Linked DNA regions of Homo sapiens: region 1 is linked to region 2. Evidence: promoter capture Hi-C in 16 types of primary human blood cells and fetal thymus (Javierre and others, 2016). All regions are on one chromosome and are shown on one strand. The core of a region is centred on a gene start or on the middle of the fragment in contact, and the rest is flanking DNA. Distances in the headings are between cores, read along the strand shown.

What was found. Contacts are between HindIII fragments. The CHiCAGO score rates a contact against its expected background, and 5 or more counts as called.
Region 1: a contact is called between a fragment that was not itself captured here and the fragment with the promoter of FAM168B in region 2, in 1 of 17 cell types (fetal thymus). The highest score is 7.6, in fetal thymus.

Annotation. Positions count from the first base shown.
Region 1 is chr2:136,134,913-136,138,158 of GRCh38, reverse strand. No RefSeq gene overlaps it. Among named protein-coding and RNA genes, the nearest start is that of CXCR4, 18 kb to the right of the region's middle. RefSeq lists an enhancer at 1,482-1,531. The HindIII fragment of the contact is 2,115 bases long and covers 777-2,891 here.
Region 2 is chr2:131,091,374-131,095,033 of GRCh38, reverse strand. FAM168B (family with sequence similarity 168 member B) reads left to right here and starts at 1,574. Exons shown (of 7, transcript NM_001009993.4): 1 at 1,574-1,820. RefSeq lists a silencer at 1,401-2,120. The HindIII fragment of the contact is 2,381 bases long and covers 124-2,504 here.

The DNA of each region.
Region 1 (3,246 bases), core at 585-3,084, 5.0 Mb before region 2:
TGGGACAAAGAAGGGGGAAGCTGTGGGGGAGGTGAGACAGTTCCTAGAAGACTGTCTGAACTACCCACTGTTATCAGCATGAGGATGGCACCCTAGTCTTGCTGGTGAGTGGTGCTGGGACTTAGAATGCAGCAACCCAGAGCATGGCACTTGGGCACGCTGAGTACTTTGAACTAAAGGAGATTGGAAGACCTCAGAAGCAAAGTCTTTCTGACCTTCTTCTCCCCTCCTGTCTTCCACCTCTCTTCATTTCTCCCCCAAAGTGAGCCATACAAACTAGAATTCTCCTTCCCCACGGCAGATCATAGAAAATAGAACCCCTCTCCCTTAAAGCAAGCCATAAAACCAGAAAGGTCACTCTCTCCCTTCTCCTTTGAAGACCTTCATTCCGGAGGGTCCTGCCCCCATACCTGGGAGGAGGGAATGCTGCACAGAGAGGCCAAGAAGAATTTGAACAGACAGCCTCCCTGGATATCCCCCTCAGTCTATCACCATTACACCATACCCTTTCTCCAATCACATTTCTACCCGCTGTCCATTCTTCATTAAACCTAAGCATAAAAACAGCTTTCTCTGGGTCTTTGAGTCTTCATTTCTGAAGGCTTTTATGTCATATAAACTTTGATTAATACATTTGCTATGTTTTTCTCTTGTTAACCTGTCTTTTGTTATAGCAGTATTGGCTGTAACCCTTATGATGGGTAGGAAAGGGGTTACACCCTACCACCCCTACAGAGGTTATGCTGCTCATGACAGAATGCAACTCATCTAAAGCTTGAACTCAAAACTTGGCAACCTTAAGGCCTTTTTGTGGCAATGAGAGCATTTGAATGTGTTGCAATTCTCTTTTTTAGAAAGAAATGATAACCCTGGGCTTTAGTTTGCTATCTTCACTGATACACTTCAAAAGGTGGGAATTCCATGAAGGTGAGGATGAGAAGAAACAAGCAGCTTGCTTACCCCACTGTACTGCACCGCCCTATTTGTCATCAACCACCTGGTGGTGATCTCCTGCTGGGCAGTGGTTTCTGTCTCTCTGTCCTCAGGTGTGATTTGAAATGTCTCCCAGTGCCTGGCACTTGGTAGACAGTCAATAAAAGTGCTCAATTCAATGACTAAGTGGGGGAATGGTCATATGATTTGATCCTTTCAATCTGGAGAGTTTTCAGATGTGTTTGAAGCATTTGTCCCTAGAGTCAGTTATGTCCAGGAAGCTCCCTAAATGCTGCCTTAGGCTCAATTTGCCCCCTCTAGAATGAAAGCAGCTGTTTCTTTTCTGGAAACATACCAGGAAGTGTCTTAGGGGTACCCCATCTTCCCGCCTTTTTGCCTCTGTAACAGCCATCTCTCCTTACCTCAAAAAATATAGTATGTGTGTTTTCAAGCTGCAAAGAAACCGTTGAAAATTAAACCACAGAACAGCATTTTAATGAGAACAGATTACCTAACACCCCACTGTGGTTTCAGATGGCCTTGTGCCAACCTTCCAAACTGTTGCCAGAAGCCCAGAGTTACAAAAAAAAAAGGAGGGTGGGGAGTTGTGGGGAGAGGGGAAAAGAGTGACTAGCATCCCCTCAGTGAGGGTAGCTTTCTTAGATGGTTTCCAAAATGATCTCTCTAGAAGGTCATAGGTTATTGGTGCCTGCAGTTGAAGAAAAGTTTCTTCCTGTTTTGAAAAATTTAAGAGAGACAAAAAGGGGGAGGCACCCTTGAGTTAGTACATGATGTCCTGAACTAGGTGTTTTCAGCACCAAAGTTCTGCTGTAAGTGTCTGTACCCACTGTCTAGCTCATCAACTTGCCTTCTGCGCACATACTTGCTATTTCTGTAGCTAGGTTACAAGACCGCAGGTGTAGATGCTGCCGGGTGGAAGCTCTGCATGCCCACAGAGCAAAGCCCGAGCAAACACTGTTCCTCCCTGGCTGATAGCTTGCACTGGGGGCTCCTGGTAGTGGGCACAGAGGCGCTAAAGCTCACATGGGCTCATTCCTCAGGGACTTTCTTTCCTTAGTCTCCAACTAACCCAGCACTTAATGTATTCAGGGCTGCGGTTTCATTTCCACATTGGGTTTCCAGATTTAACCCCTGAACTAACTTCTGCAGTTGTCTTCCCACCAGTTCAACAACAACCAGATGGCCTGCAAGGCCACAGGAAAAAGTAGATGACAGAGCTGGAAGATGCTGGAGTGGAATACCTTCATTCCACTGATGAGGAAATCAGGTCAGGCCCAGAGGAAGTTTAGAGATTCACCCAAAATCACACACCCACTCAGCAGTGGAGACAAAAATACAACCACTATCCTGATTTCCAGCCTGTGGCACTGCCCTAACTGTATGGCTTCCCATTCCTTTCAGTAACACAGTAGCTTTTACCTCTTGCACACAAAGTGACAGACACACAATGGGCCCTCCTTAAATGCTACTTTCCTTCCTTGCAAACTATACCATACTGTGCTAAAACTTGAGAAGGATAAGTGGAAAAGTACCACACTCTCTGGCTCTCAAAGAGTTATAGCACCTTAAAGGTAACAAACAGCATGCCTACATTGAGCATAGAAACAACACAAGCTGATGCAAAACAGAGTGCCAGAAGATGCTTCATACCATGAGTGCAAGGAAAAGCAAAACACCTCACTTTACCCCCTTCACCTCATTAACTCCCATTTACTTGTTTTGTCTTAGTTTTGAGGTCATCTCTTTTGGAAAGCCTTCCACGTTTGGTTTAGGTTGAACTATAAGTGCAGGTGCACTTGTCTGGATCCTTGTGAGCTCCATGAGGACAGGTTCCTGGTCGGCCTTGTGCACTGCCTTTATCCCTATGTCTGGTGCCTGGGACAGAGTGCTCAGCAAGCATTTGGGGAAGTAAGGAACTGAATATCCATCAGGAAGCTTTTACCCAGGACATGGGATGGAAAATGGGCTCTAAGATGAAAAGGATTTCTATCAATGCAGAAGGTGGTGCAGAAATGAGTGGATAATAACTCCCATAGAAAAATCACTCCTGGCCCAGGCGTGGAGGCTCACGCCTGAAATCCCAGCACTTTGGGAGGCCGCCAAGGTGGGAGGATGGCTTGAGCCCAGGAGTTCGAGACACCCTGGGCAACATCTCGAGATCTTGTCTCCAAAAAAATAAAAGTTAGACGGGCATGGTGGCCTGTGTCTGTAGTCCTAACTACTCGAGAGACTAAGGTGGGAGGATCACTTGACTCAGGAGGCAGAGGCTGCAGTGAGCCATGATTATGCCTC
Region 2 (3,660 bases), core at 325-2,824:
TTCTGGAAGCTTTTGGAATATTAAAGAGATTAGCTTTGTCTATTACATGTGTTGGGACTATTTCTTCCTTGTTAATCATTTATCTTTTGACTTTGCTTATGGTGCTTTTTGCCGACCAAAGCTTTTCATAGTCATGACTTCTGGATTTCAAGTAATAATGTAGAAAAGCCTTCTTTACTCCAATACTAAAAAGGAATTTCCCCATGTTTTCTTCTTGTCCTTTTATCACATTTATATTTTATTTTTATTTTTTTTTTTGAGACGGAGTCTTCCTCTGTCGCCCAGGCTGGAGTGCAGTGGCCCGATCTCGGCTCACTGCAACCTCCGCCTCCCGGGTTCAAGAGATTCTCCTGCCTCAGCCTCCAGAGCAGCTAAGGTTACAGATGTGCGCCACCACGCGCAGCTAATTTTTGTATTTTTAGTAGAGACGCGGTTTCACTATGTTGGCCAGGCTGGTCTTGAACTCCTGACCTCGTGATCTGCCCGCCTCGGCCTCCTATAAGTGCCGGGATTAAAGGCGTGAGACACCGCGCCCATCTGTTTTTATTTCATAAACGACTGAAAAAAGACCAGAGCCAGGCCTCCTCCCTTCCATCACTAATCTTTATTGCAATAACTCCCTCCTTTGTCGTCCTGTACCTAGCTCAGACCAGACGACACCCCAAACACAAACACCAAGACACGCACCTCTTTAATACGAAATAATAAACATACCTCCCCCAGAGAGACACCCTGAACTAACCAAATCATTGTAACTATACACTAAGCCTTACATAAAAATACTAACATTTGGCCGGGTGCGGTGGCTCACACTTGTAATCCCAGCACTTTGGGAGGCCAACGTGGGTGGATCACCTGAGGTCACGGGTTCGAGACTAGCCTGACCAACATGGTGAAACCCCCGTCTCTACTAACACAAAAATTAGCCAGGTGTGGTGGCGGGCGCCTGGAATCTCAATTACTCAGGAGGCTGAGGCAGGAGAATCGCTTGAACCCGGGAAGCGGAGGTTGCAGTGAGCCAAGATCGCGCCATTGTACTCCAGCCTGGGTGACAAGAGCGAAACTCCGTCTCAAAAAAAAACCAAAAAACCCCCTAACATTCTAGTACACTTCCCTGAACTCTTGTCTATAGAAATGATCCCGCACTTCTACACTTGAAACGCTGACTTGCATTCTCTAAAATCTGCACTCCTGAGCGGGCGCCCGCAGCCTCCGCACTGGCAAAGAATCTGTGAGCTGAGCTCCGCCCCGCTCCGACCCCGTAGTGGCGGTCACCCGGGGTGTGCTCGACTCCCGGGTGCGGCCTGAGGATCCGCGCCCTGGCGTCTGGGCACACACAAAGGTTTCTGCGGCGCGGGACTATCTCAAAATATAAATTAAATACTTTTTTCACAGACAGTTAATAAAAAAACTACAGCTACACCCGGCCCTTTCGCCAACTGGGACCGGCCCACTCCGCGCTCGCGCTCGCGCTCGTCCATCCGGGCGTCTCGAGGGCGCCGGCGGGAGCGAGCACGCTGCGCAGTCACGTGCCCGGCGCGCCCCCGTCGCGGCGCGCTCAGGCGGAAGTGAGGTCGGCGGCTCCGGTGGCTGCGCAGCGTCGGCGGGGAGCGCGGGCTGCGGAGAGGCGGGCCGGGCCAAGCGGAGCCGAGCGAGCGGGAGCGCGGCGTCCGGGAGGCGGCGGAGACGCGGGGCTCGGAGGGTCAGCCTCTTATCGTAGCAGGTCTCCTCGGCACGCCCCCCTTGTTTCGCCCCACGGCCAAGCCCGCCGCGGGCCGGCGTGCGCTGGTCACTGAGGCCCAGGTCGCCGCCGCGGCGCGGTGAGTGGGGGCGGGCAGCGGGCGACTGCGCGTCCAGGCCGGAAGTGCGGCGCTTTGTGCGGCCGGCTCGGGGCGGCGCCAAGGTCGGCCCGCGGCTCGGGGTCGCTGGGCGTCTGGACCGGCCTGGGCTGCGCTTTGTGCCGCGGGCAAGGCCGGGCGGGGGCCGGGGGCGGAGCTCGGCCGGACACGTACGCGTGCAGGTGCGGTCCGGGCGGCGCGGGCCTGCCGCCTAGGTGGCCGAGGTGGCTTCGCGGCGCGGGGCGTTCTCCTAAAGGTCGGGGTCACAGCCGTCAGGAATGCGAGCGTGAAACCCGGGGGCAGAGCTTTGTGACAATAGTCATTTCCAATGTGTAACTGCTCACTTTGTCTACCCACGAAGTAAAGATAATTTTTATTTTTATTTTTTTGCTTGGCGGAATCTGAGCGTTCTCCTTCCAGCTTGAAAAGGCACGATTTAAATTACAGATTTTTAAGATTTCCTTCAGAAAGGACGTTTCGTGGCCTAGCCTGGGTTAACTTTGAAAAAAGAGTGCAGTGCGCCTTTACGACGTCCACAAATAAGGGTATTTCTGTTTTATAGTGTATGTGAACATGAAGTGTGCATCTCATGGGCTGTTTGAGTTAATGTTTAATCATTAAAGTCAAACAAGAATATTTTGCAGTGTTTTCGCATGCAAGGAAGCTTTATAAATAAAAAGGTTTATATAGTTTCCACTCCTTAAACTTTCAGGTCATCCTTGTGTAATTTGAGATCACTTTTCTCAAATACTATGGATGAAAGATTCTAGATTAAATAAAACTTTTTGGTTTTGGCAAAAACAGGACACATTTTTAAGCTCTTGTAGATGAAGGAGTGGGTTATTTTTGCTTTGACAGCCAAGATTTGAGCAGTGTAAGGCTATTCTAATTTTGAAGCTAGTGTTGCAGAAATTGTGAAGATCTTGCTTCTCTTTGTCTTTACAAAGCAGGCTTACTTTGGTGGAGTTCCGTAGTTTAAAGGGAAATTATACCCAAGTTGTCTTAGACAGTTTCTTTTCCTGGATCAATTGAGCACTTTTTTTTTTTTTTTTGAGACGGAGTCTCCCTCTGTTTCCCAGACTGGAGTGCAGTGGCGCCATCTCGGCTCACTGCAAGCTCCGCCTCCCGGATTCACGTCAGTCTTTTGCCTCAGCCTCCCAAGTAGCTGGGACTGCAGGCGCCCGCCACCACGCCTGGCTAATTTTTTTGTATTTGTTTTTTTTTTTTTTTAGTAGAGACGAGGTTTCACCGTGTTAGCCAGGATGGTCCCAATCTCCTGACCTCGTGATCCGCCCGCCTCGACCTTCCAAAGTGCTGGGATTACAGACGTGAGCCACCGCGCCTGGCCGAGCACAATTTTAAAAGAACAGTACACCAGCGTAATAGAGTAATAGTTTTTTCATGCCTTGTGTCCAGTCTGTTAAGTCTGTCTGATTGTACTGTGCAGAAATACATGAATTCCTCCCAGTAAAATGCAAACCCAAACCTTGGTAATGAAGGTAAAGTTTGGGGGAGAGAACTTCTTTTCTTTTTTCTTTTTTTTTTTTGTGAGACGGAGTGTCGCTCTGTCGCCCAGGCTGGAGTGCAATGGCGTGATCTCGGCTCACTGCAACCTCCGCCTCCCGGGCTCAAGGGATTCTCCTGTCTCAGCCTCCCGAGTAGCTGGGATTACAGGCACACACCACTGCGCCCAGCTAATTTTTTGTATTTTTAGTAGAGACGGGGTTTTACCATGTTGCCCAGTCTGGTCTTGAACTCCTGACCTCAGGTGGTCCACCTACGTCGGCCTCCCAAAGTGCTGGAGACACCACCGCGCTCGGCC